Regions from separate parts of the Homo sapiens genome. Here all the other regions are linked to region 2. Evidence: promoter capture Hi-C in human tissues and cell types (Jung and others, 2019). All regions are on one chromosome and are shown on one strand. Each heading gives the region's core, a stretch centred on a gene start or on the middle of the fragment in contact. The rest is flanking DNA. Distances are from core to core; before and after follow the strand shown. Region 1 holds the start of GPATCH1 (G-patch domain containing 1). Region 2 holds the start of NUDT19 (nudix hydrolase 19). Region 3 overlaps ZNF507 (zinc finger protein 507). Region 4 overlaps CEP89 (centrosomal protein 89).

The links. Contacts are between HindIII fragments. The study calls those that stand out against the background at their distance.
Region 1: a contact is called between the fragment with the promoter of GPATCH1 here and the fragment with the promoter of NUDT19 in region 2, in 4 of the 25 tissues and cell types used here (H1 embryonic stem cells, heart left ventricle, mesendoderm cells and 1 more).
Region 3: a fragment that was not itself captured here is called in contact with the fragment with the promoter of NUDT19 in region 2 in 1 of the 25 tissues and cell types used here (dorsolateral prefrontal cortex).
Region 4: a fragment that was not itself captured here is called in contact with the fragment with the promoter of NUDT19 in region 2 in 1 of the 25 tissues and cell types used here (H1 embryonic stem cells).

The regions. Positions count from the first base shown.
Region 1 is chr19:33,079,921-33,082,620 of GRCh38, reverse strand. GPATCH1 (G-patch domain containing 1) reads right to left here and starts at 1,440. Exons shown (of 20, transcript NM_018025.3): 1 at 1,355-1,440. The coding sequence starts at 1,427. RefSeq lists an enhancer at 1,216-1,545. The HindIII fragment of the contact is 22,582 bases long and covers 1-2,700 here.
Region 2 is chr19:32,690,433-32,693,132 of GRCh38, reverse strand. NUDT19 (nudix hydrolase 19) reads right to left here and starts at 1,312. Exons shown (of 3, transcript NM_001105570.2): 1 at 459-1,312. The coding sequence starts at 1,172. NUDT19-DT (NUDT19 divergent transcript) reads left to right here and starts at 837. Exons shown (of 2, transcript NR_186320.1): 1 at 837-1,770. It overlaps LOC124904690 (a long non-coding RNA gene), which reads left to right. Exons shown (of 2, transcript XR_007067226.1): 2 at 1-168. RefSeq lists a silencer at 940-1,349. The HindIII fragment of the contact is 18,784 bases long and covers 1-2,700 here.
Region 3 is chr19:32,360,504-32,363,203 of GRCh38, reverse strand. It overlaps ZNF507 (zinc finger protein 507), which reads right to left. Exons shown (of 7, transcript NM_001136156.2): 5 at 2,586-2,700. Among named protein-coding and RNA genes, the nearest start is that of ZNF507, 16 kb to the right of the region's middle. The HindIII fragment of the contact is 4,607 bases long and covers 1-2,700 here.
Region 4 is chr19:32,953,990-32,956,689 of GRCh38, reverse strand. The region is part of intron 3 of CEP89 (centrosomal protein 89); the gene reads left to right. Among named protein-coding and RNA genes, the nearest start is that of CEP89, 17 kb to the left of the region's middle. The HindIII fragment of the contact is 8,520 bases long and covers 1-2,700 here.

The sequences.
Region 1 (2,700 bases), core at 191-2,690, 390 kb before region 2:
CCTCCCACCTCAGCCTCCCAGAGTGCTGGGATTACAGGTGTGAACCACTGTGCCTGGCCCCTTTCTCAACCTTTTGTAAGCCGAGGGTAGAAGAAGGGCCAGTATCCAGCAGAAGTTTCCACCAGAACTGTTTGTAGGAAATAAAGGGGGCATAAGTGGAGATATCCCAGAAGTACAATCAACCTGGCAGGATGTGGTCAGGGTGAAAAAAGGGAGGGGACCCCCACCAACAGGAGGTCTGCAAATAAATTGTGGCCCAATGATTCCACCATTCTTCCTCTGCCTTCCCTACAGGGCTAGCACAGCCAACAGCCCTTACTGGACACTCAATACATAACTTGCTGAACAAGTCAAGTCGTTAAGTGGAACAGACCAGAAACACAGGAGAGAACCTTGATTCATCTTGCCCCTCACCCCCACATTCCACCAGCAAGTATGGTCAGCTCTGCTTTCAAAATATATCTCCACCCAGACCACTACACACCACCACCACTGCTGTCCCATCCATGCCACCATCATCTCCTGACCTCTTTTTGCTAATCTCCCTGCTTCACTCTTACCCATCCCCAACCAGTGTATTCTCAACATCAAAGATAGAATAACATTAAAAATTGGCCGAGCACAGTGGCTCAAGCCTGTAATCCCTGCACTTTGGGAGGCAGAAGCGAGAGGATCACTTGAAGTCAGGAGTTCAAGACCAGCCTGGGAAACAGAGCAAAACCCTGTCTCTAAAAATCATATATATATCCCTCCCTGTGTAATTTCCCATGACCCTAACCCTAACCCTAATCCTGCACTTAGTACAAGATCCAAACTCTTTACCCTACCAAGTAAGATCCAGCCCCTGTCAGCCCCTCTGACATTCTTTTCTACCTGTCTCCCCCGCTGTCATCTGCTGCAACCATACCCGTCCTGCCTGCCCCTCAATTTCCTAAACTGGCTCCCACTTCAGGGCCTTTGCCACTTTATGTTCCTTCTGCCTGAAATGCTTTCCCTCCAGATTTGCTCATGGTTGTTTTCTTCCTCGGTTTCAAGTCTGAGCTCAAACGTCCTCTCTCGGGGAAGACACTGCCTGAGCACCCCCCGCTCTCACACTAGCTATTCCGTCATTTTCTTGTTTCTATCTCGCCGCCCCCTTGTTCGGCCACGCTTGTGTCTCCCGTCCCTGTAAACCTCTCTCTGTCGCTGCAGAAGGTGAGCACCCCGAGAGCGCGGCTAACGCCTCCCTCGTCGCCGTGTTCCCAGCGCTGGGAACGATCTAACAATGGTCCAGCACCGACTTGTGCTTTTGTGGCCCGAATCCTGGGCCCTTGGCCTGTTTTCCACAGGCTCCGCCGGCCCACGCGGCCCGCACCTTCTTCCAGAGGCTCCAGCCCGGTCCCATAGCTGACCAGATCTTCTTCGCTGTCACTGTCCCGCGCCGCCATCCTGCTCTTCCGGGCCCCGCCCCCTCGCTACGGCGGCCTTGGCAGGCCAAACGCCTTTCCTCTTTCTCCTCCGCGAACCCCGGTGATGCTGGAAGGCTGGGTCCGCGGGCGGGGGAAGGTGTCCTAGCGGCCCGAGCCTGCGCTCCGGATTCTCAGGCCCATCCTGTGGTAGGCCGTCCCAGGCAGGAGTTGCCTCGGAGGATTTGGCAGCCACGACATCCCATCCTAGCCCCGCGATGTGCGGGTGAGGAGGAGACTCCTGGCATAAGCTGGAAGCCACCCAACTGTTCCCTGCGAGGCGACACCGATGCCTGCCCAGCCCCCTACCCCCGTCCCTCGCGCCAGCCCCCTGCCTTGGCAGCAGTCACTGCCCAGCCCCGTCCACTCCCACCGCCCACCCAGCCACCTCCAGGGAAATGGCTGAGCTCCCAGATTTCATGCTCGCCCCGTGGGGCTTCGCTTTATTTTTATTATTATTATTTTTTACTTTTATTTTGGGTTCAGGGGTACATGTGCAAGTTTGTTATATAGGTAAATTGCATGTCGCAAGGGATTTGGGTTACAGATTATTTCCTCCCCAGGTAATAAGCATAGTACCCAATAGGTAGTTTTTCCGATCCTCACCCTCCTCGTACCTTCCACCCTCAAGTAGGTCCACCCTCAAGTAGGCCCTGGTGTTATTCCCTTTTTTTTTTTTTTTTTTTTTGAGACAGAGTCTCGCTCTGTCGCCCAGGCTGGAGTGCAGTGGCCGCGATCTCAGCTCACTGCAACCTCCGCCTCCCAGATTCAAGTGATTCTCCTGCCTCAGCCTCCTGATAGCTGGGATTATAAGCGTCCACCCCACCACGCCCTGCTAAATTTTTGTTTGTTTGGTTGGTTGGTTGTTGTGGTGGTTTTTTTTTTTTTTTTCTTGAGACAGAGTTTCACTCTTGTTGCCCAGGCTGGAGTGCAATGGCACGATCTCGGCTCACCTCAACCTCCGCCTCCCGGGTTCAAGCGATTCTCCTGCCTCAGCCTCCCTAGTAGGTGGGATTACAGGCATGCACCACTATGTCTGGCTAATTTTGTAATTTTTTTTTTAGTAGAGACGGGGTTTGTCCATGTTGGTCAGGCTGGTCTCGAACTCCCCACCTCAGGCGATCCATCCACCTTGGCCTCCCAAAGTGCTGGGATTACAGATGTGAGCCACCGCACCCGGCCATTTTTTTTTTTTTTTTTTTTTTTTTTTGTATTTTTAGTAGAGACTGGGTTTCACCATGTTGGCCAGGCTGGT
Region 2 (2,700 bases), core at 63-2,562:
CACTGGAAGGAACCAATTCTGGACACACCAGGAGCTGGAGACGAGCCTGGGTGTGCAACACAGAGAGACAAGACCCCCATCTGTACCAAAAATAAATAAAAATAGGAAGACTGGATCATATTAAGTCTGTTCTCCAAGAAAACCAAATTAAACGGCTGTGGAGATGTACTATGTCTACACATGTACAAGTGCTTACACAGTGGCCACGCTGGAGGAACCACGTGGAGAGACAGGCTCCAGGCCTTGAGACCCCAAAGCCTAGGAAAGCAGAGAGCACTTCACCAAGAGCATGGCTTTGGTCTACAGGGGTGAGAGTTTCCAGCCCGTCTAAGCGTTCCTTGCTGCTTAATCTCTCTGGGCTTGGCCTATGCGGGGGTCCCTTGGGGGCCTGGGCCGCTGGGAGGGGTCCTCCCTCTCACGTCCTGGCGGTCCGCAGCAAGGCCCTGAGCAGGCCTTACCTGGTAGCCCACCACCTCCGCCAAGTCGGGGTAGACGGGCGGCGGCTCGCGCAGGCAGCACAGGAAGAAGGCCGTGTCAAAGCGGCGAGTGGTGCCCCGCAAGAAAGGGGTGAGCCAGGCGCTCCAGTTGTGCAGCGCCCAGATGTCGGGTGTGCAGTCGAGGTGGGCGCACAGCCGCAGGAAGTGGCGCGGGTCCTGGCGCACGCGGTCGCGCCAGGAGGCCAGGCCCGGCGGTGGCTCCAGGGCGAGGCCAGGCCCGGGTGCTGGGCCTGGTGGGGAAGTCCTGGGCCGCAGCAGCAGCACGCCCGCCTCCTCAAAGGCCTCCCGCACGGCGCAGATGCGGAAGGCTACGTCCTCAGGCAGCGTCCCAGTGTTGTCGGTCTTGTGGTCATCGGTGTCGGGCAGCGACGGGAAAGCGGTGCGGCTGAATGGCGCCGGGCCCAGGCCGAAGCGCGGCGGCCCGTGGTGCGGCGCGAAGAGGCCCAGCCAGTCCGCCGAGCGGTCGGCCGCATCCAGCACTCCGCCGGAGAAGACGTGCGCGCCCGGCATGAAGCCTTGGTGCGGGGAGCGCTGCAGCAGCAGCAGCCGGAAGCCCTCGGCCGGCGGCGGGCGCGACGGCGGGGTGGCGGTCTCCGGGCGCGACCAGCCAGCCGCCAGGACGATGCTGGCCGCCCGCCGCCAGCGGCTGGGGCCCGGCCGCAGGGAGCTGCTCATGGCGCGCAGCTTCCCGGATCCGATTCTGGCGCGGCCTGAGCTCCACGGCAGGTGGCCCGGCCCTGCAGGGACCCCAGCACCTCCGGGGGCCTCGCGGGAATTGAGGACGAGCCTCTGGCGTTGGGTGAACCTGGGCGTTTGGTCGGCAACGGCGCCTGCCTGTGGGAGGGGCACCCGAGCAGGGACCGCCTCGAGTGCACTGGGGCCCAGCTAGGGCACTCTCGCGGGACAATGGGTGTCACGGCAGCCAGCGACCGTTTGTCATTCACAGCTGCCTGAAAGGAGGACCGCAGTATTCCCACGCAGGAAGCTTGGACCAAAAGCAGGAATGCTTAAGGGCGCATATGACTTGCCATGGTAAAAAACAGGATGCCAACCCAGGCCTGATGACATCCACCTCACTAAAAGCTAAGGACTAGGACTTTCTGCTTTAAACAAGGACCCACATGTGGGTGTTTTCTGTGGGAGAGGGAGAGAGGACATTCGAAGGGCAGAAGTCTGACCTTTGCAAGCACACGTGAACCACACCAATGAGAAATGAATGGACGAGCCAGATGCCAATTTATAAATTTCCTACTGCACACCTTGAATGTGAAAGGTACTCCCAGAGTAATTTCTCTCGTGTTCTGGTTACCTTTTATTGTCAGGGCGCCTGGGGACGGCCTTAGGTGTCTTAGGACATTTGACGAGTTCCACTTTGATGGGAGATGTTTAATCTGGGCCTCCACATGGAGATTTCTCTCCACCTTGTTAGTGTCTAGAAGACTTCCACCTCCAATAGCAGGATTATGATCTTTTGAAAAGCCTGTGTAAATTTGAGTCTTTTCTTTTATAACTCCTTATCAGTCACCGACAGCTTTTCCCATAATTGCTATTATAATTGGATCACACATTTGTTATGTTTTTGGATGAAATACACTATACCCCTGCCGACCCTCACAAACCATCATTTTAATGTGGGTTATTTCCTGGGTAGAATCCACAGATGACATTGTCAATATTTAGGGGTTTTGTTTGTTTTTTTGTTTGAAGAGACCTGGTCTCTGGCCAGGCGCTGTGGCTTACACCTGTAATCCCAGCACTTTGGGAGGCCGAGGTGGTCGGATCACCTGAGGCCAGGACTTCAAGACCAGCATGGCCAACATGGCAAAACCCCGCCTCTACTAAAAATACAAAAATTAGCTGGGTGTGGCGGCCCGCGCCTATAGTTGCAGCTACTCAGGAGGCTGAGGCAGGAGAATCACTTGAATCTGGGTGGAGGTTGCTGTGAGCCAAGATCCTGCCACTGCATTCCGGCATGGGTGACAGAGCGAGACTCTGTCTCAAAAAAATAAATAAATAAATAAAATAAAAATACAGAGCAATGGAGAGAAAGGCACTCAGGTGATTAAAGTAACATGTCTTCAATACTAGGAGTAATAATAATCCTAGGGGATAATAATATTAGTAGTTACTGGGTACAGTGTGTGAGGCACTAGGAACTTTATTAGTATTAGTTGTGTAATTCTTACAAAACCCCATGAAGTGG
Region 3 (2,700 bases), core at 134-2,633, 330 kb after region 2:
GAAACCAAGCCCAAACTCTGACCATAAGTGCACCAGGCAACGAAACTGAATGAAGCAGACATGAAATGAGCCAGAGAAACTCCTGTGATCCTTGAATTAAGTCAGACATTATAAAGGCTACGCTACCAGCTCCGCTTAAAGCACACAGTATAGGACAACGAGGAGAAAGTCCTAGAAACATCCTGGAATAGAACATGTTAATCCGTAATGCTCTGCGACCAGAAATCCCATGAAGGCAAAGGATGGTGAGTATTTAAAGAAAGTTAAAAGGAGAGCCATGACATTAGAAAATAAGACTTATGAGGAAAAACTGATAATAAGTACAAAGAGGGAGATATGACAAAACTGTATCTAAGGCATAACCACACCAAACCCAGTGACAAAGTGGAGTGTGAATAAATTTGGAAAATAACAGACTGAGAGTTCTCTGATGTTACACAAAGAGGATGCTCACGGGATGTTGCCCGTTGGTAGGAAGACCCTAGGACAACTGCAATGAATCCTATGAATCTGTGAATATTTTAAGAACACAAGAAAACATCCCTGAGACACTGACAGCTATCAAAATGAATCTTTAAGCTGCAAGACTGATCTAATAAAGCAGATGTAAAACCTTCAACAGAACTAGAATCGCTAACCTTTTTCCTAAGTATTTGAGGGTTTACTTGCTTATTGTTTGTCTACAAGTTCCATGACAGCAAAGATGACGTCTGTTTTGTTATGACTGTAGTCCAAGAATCTAGCACGGCCCCTGAAGCATAATATTTGCTCAATAAATATTTCTCCATGAATGAAAGAACAATCTAATTCTGGACCCGGAGAAATGTTATTTTCTTCTTACTTAAATCACATGAATCTGGCACGGTATGTCTAAATTCAAGGATACCAAAAATATAAAGGCAAAGCTTTCTCCTCCTATCAGGTAAACTAGTGTTCCCTGTTTCCATCACATTCTCCTAAACATTTCCCAGTATAAATCACGAATGTAAATATACTCAGTCCCACCTATTAAATAGACTGATTGGACATGGTGTAACCATGTAATCCCAGCACTTTGGGAGGCCAAGGTGGGCGGACACTTGAGGCCAGGAGTTCAAGACCTGGCGAAACCCCGTCTCTAATTAGCTAATCATGGCACATGCCTGTGGTCCCAGCTACTTGGGAGGCTGAGGCATGAGAATCACTTGAACCCGGGAGGCGGAGGTTGCCGTGAGGTGAGATCACTCCACTGCACTCCAGCCTGGGTGATGACAGAGCGAGACTCTGTCAAAGAAAAAAAGGAAGGAAGGAAGGAAGGAAGGAGGGAGGGAGGGAGGGAGGGGAGGGAAAGGAAAGGAAGGAAAGGAAGGAAGGAAAGGAAGAAAGGAAAGGAAGAAAGGAAAGGAAGGAAGGAAACGAAGGAAGGAAAGGAAGGAAGGAGGGAGGGAGAGAGGGAGGGAGGGAAGAAAAGGAAAGGAAGGAAAGGAAAGGAAGGAAAGGAAGAAAGGAAAGGAAGGAAGGAAAGGAAGGAAAGGAAGGAAGGAAAGGAAGGAAGGAAGAAAAGAAGGAAGGAAGGAAAGAAGGAAGGAAGGAAGACACTGAGGAGGACTGAGGCAAGGTCAAACACCTTCCACAGAGTTTTAAGACTCTGCAAACAGATGTACTTTCTGAAGAGTGATTATAAGTAAGTCTGCTGGTTTGCAAATTAAGCACATATTAAATATTCGAAACCATACACAGATCACCACACTTTGGGATTAAACAATGACCTTTTATGGCACAATCTGTCAGGTTTTCATTGAGATTAATACAATAACTTTCCCACACTCACTTGTATCATATCTACAGAATCTGGGGAGAGAGTTAAACCTGCTAAGTTTTGACAAGGGGGTGAAAGTTCATGCGCATTGCCTAGCACTATCACTGAGAATGCCTATATTTTCTGAAATATATATCTGAATTTGCTTTTGGGAAAAATCAAGTAATGAAATTAAATGACTTATTCTACACATACTAGCTTAATTTTGAAAAATGGACTCTTTCATAGAAAATTTTATTGCCTTTAAGTTTTAAGGATCTTTTGCTGAATACTGAGTACCTTACTGCCAAATTACTGAAATGAACTCTAAGGCATTGAAAATTGCTATGAAATTTATACCCATATGAAATGAAAACATAAAATTGACAGATAAAGACAATTTCCTATGTATCAACTAGACAAAATGCCTACTGTCCTAAGATTCAAGCTTAAAGTTCACATCTTAACAAATCAAACAAGACATAATACCAGCCAGGTGCAGTGGCTCACGCCTGCAATCCCAGCACTTTGGGAGGCTGATGTGGGAGGATCCCTTGAGGCCAGGAGTTCGAGGCTGCAGTGAGCTGTGATCATACCACTGCACTCCAGCCTGGGCAATACAGCAAGACACTGACTCAAAAAATAAATAAGTAAATATATAAAACAACAAAATATAAAACCAATTAGTGAAAATTTCTTACTTCTTAACCTGTGTTTCAGTAAGTGCTATACATTTTTATTTCATTTTATTTCTTTAATATAAAATATTTTAATACAAACATTAAAATTCTAGAATCATAACACTTACCTGTACGGCTTATCAGAGTTATGGATTCGCCTGTGGTTTCTGACACCAACATATGTTGTACTTGTATAATCACACACATCACATCTATATTGTTTCTGGACTGAAGACTTATTCC
Region 4 (2,700 bases), core at 152-2,651, 260 kb before region 2:
TAGTAATTTCAAATTGGAATGGAAGTCAAGTGTGGTGGTTCACACCTGTAATCCCAGCACTTTGAGAGGCTGAGGTGGGAGGACTGCTTGAGATCAGGAGTTTGAGACCAGCCTGGGCAACAAAGTGAGACCCCCATCTCTACAAAAAAATACAAAAATCATCCTGGCATGGTGTTGCTCACCTGTAGTCCCAGCTGCTTGGGAGGCTGAGGCAGGAGGATCACTTGAGCCCAGGAGGTCAAAGTTGCAGTATGATCTTGTCACTTCACTCCACCCTGGATGACAGAGTGAGACCCTGTCTCAAAAAAAAAAACAAAAATAAAAAAAGAAAAAACAGGCCGGGTGCGGTGGCTCACGCCTGTAATCCCAGCATTTTGGGAGGCCGAGATGGACGGATCACGAGGTCAGCAGATCGAGACCATCCTGGCCAACATGGTGAAACCCTGTCTTTACTAAAAATACAAAAAATTAGCTGGCGTGGTGGCGGGCGCCTGTAGTCCCAGCTACTCAGGAGGCTGAGGCAGGAGAATGGCGTGAACCCGGGAGGTGGAGCTTGCAGTGAGCCAAGATGGAGCCACTGCACTCCAGCCTGGGGGACAGAGCGAGACTCCATCTCAAAAAAAAAAAAAAAAAAAAAAAAGAACCAAATTGGAATGGACATACCAGAAGTAAAACAGACAAAGGACCTGAACACAAGTATATGGAAAAACATTCAGTCTCAGTAACAAATGCAAATTTAGACAGTGGGTTTTAAGTTGTTTTGGCAAGTTTTAGAAAATTATTACCAGTGTATTTATAGCTTGGAGAAATGATTTTGTGCAGTATGTATGTAGACACAAAATGTTCACACCATTTGACTCAAGAATTTACTGTATGGGCCGGACACAGTGGCTCACGCCTGTAACCTCAGCACTTTTTGAGGCTGAGGCGGGCGTATCACTTGAGGTCAGGAGTTCAAGACCAGCCTGGCCAATGTGGTGAAACCCCATGTCTACTAAAAATACAAAAATTAGCCAGGCATGGTGGCAGGCGCCTGTAGTCCCAGCTACTCGGGAGGCTGAGGCAGGAGAATCACTTGAACGCGGGAAGCGGAGGTGGCAGTGCACTGAGATCGCGCCACCACACTCCAGCCTGGGTGACAGAGCGAGACTCCATCTCAAATAAAAAAGATAAAGAAAAAAAGAATTTACTCTATGGCGGTTTGTTTTATGTGAGTAACCTTAAATACAGTAGGGGTTATCTGCACACAGATGTTTATTACAGGGTTATCTACAACAATGGAAAGTGAAGGAAAAAAACCCCACCTAAGCAAGGAAAATGGCTGGTTAAGCTGGTATATCTAGTGGATTCCTACCTTTTAAAATGTTGACTATAAAAACTCATTAATAGGCTGGGGACAGTGGATCATACCTGTAATCCCAACACTTTGGGAGGTTGAGGTGGGTGGATCTCTTCAGCTCTGGAGTTTGAGACCAGCCTGGGCAACATGGTGAAACCCCTTCTCTACTAAAAATACAAATAAACAAACAAACAAAAAATTAGCTGGGTATGGTGGAGTGCATCTCTAGTCCCAGCTACTCGGGAGGCTGAGGTAGGAGGATCACTTGAGCTGGGGAGGTGGATGCTGCAGTAAGCCAAGATTGCACCTCTGCATTCCAGCCTGTGTGGCAGAATGAGACCCTGTCTCAATTTAAAAAATAAAAATACTTATTAATAGCAGGCTGGGGCCAGGCATGGTGGCTCAGGCCTGTAATCCCAGCACTTTGGGAGGCCGAGGTGTGCAGATCATTTGAGGTCAGGAGTTTGAGACCATCCTGGCCAACATGGTGAAACCCCATCTCTACTAAAAATAGAAAAATTAGCCAGGTGTGGTGGCGAGTGCCTGTAATCCCAGCTACTCAGGAGGCTGAGGCAGGAGAATCACTTGAACCCGGGAGGCAGAGGTTGCAGTAAGCCAAGATTGCACTACTATACTCCATCCTGGGTGACAGAGTGAGACTCTGTCTCAAAATAATAATAACAATAATAATAACAACAGGCTGGGCTCAGTGGCTCATGCCTGTAATCCTAGCACTTTAGGAGGCTGAGGCAGGCGGATCCCTTGAGCCAAGGAGTTCAAGACCAGCCTGGACAACATGGTGAAACCCCGTCTCTACAAAAAATACAAAAACTAGCTGGGCTTGGTTAGTCCCAGCTATTGGGAGGCTGAGACTGGAGGATCACCTGAGCCCAGAGAGATTGAGGCTACAGTGAACCATGATTGCACCACTTCACTCCAGCCTGGGAGACAGAGTGAGACCCTGTCTCAAAAAAAAAACAAAAAAACAAAAAACCCTTATTCATAACAAGACAAATTGTATATGTATGCAGTAACTCTAAAAACAGAAACTAGAAGGATATGCCAAGTGTACAAAGAGATGGGACGGTGGAAAATTTAATCTTTTAGCTTCTGTGTACTTTGTAGTATCCCACATTTATGGTAAGGACTTGGAGGCAGTGCATTTAATACATGATACTGGCCGGGCACAGTGGCTCACGCCTGTAATCCCAGCACTTTGGGAGGCCGAGGCGGGCGGATCACGAGGTCAGGAGATCGAGACCACCGTGGCTAACAGGGTGAAACCCCATCTGTACTAAAAATACAAAAAAAAAAATTAGCCAGGCGCGGTGGTGGGCACCTGTAGTCCCAGCTACTCACTA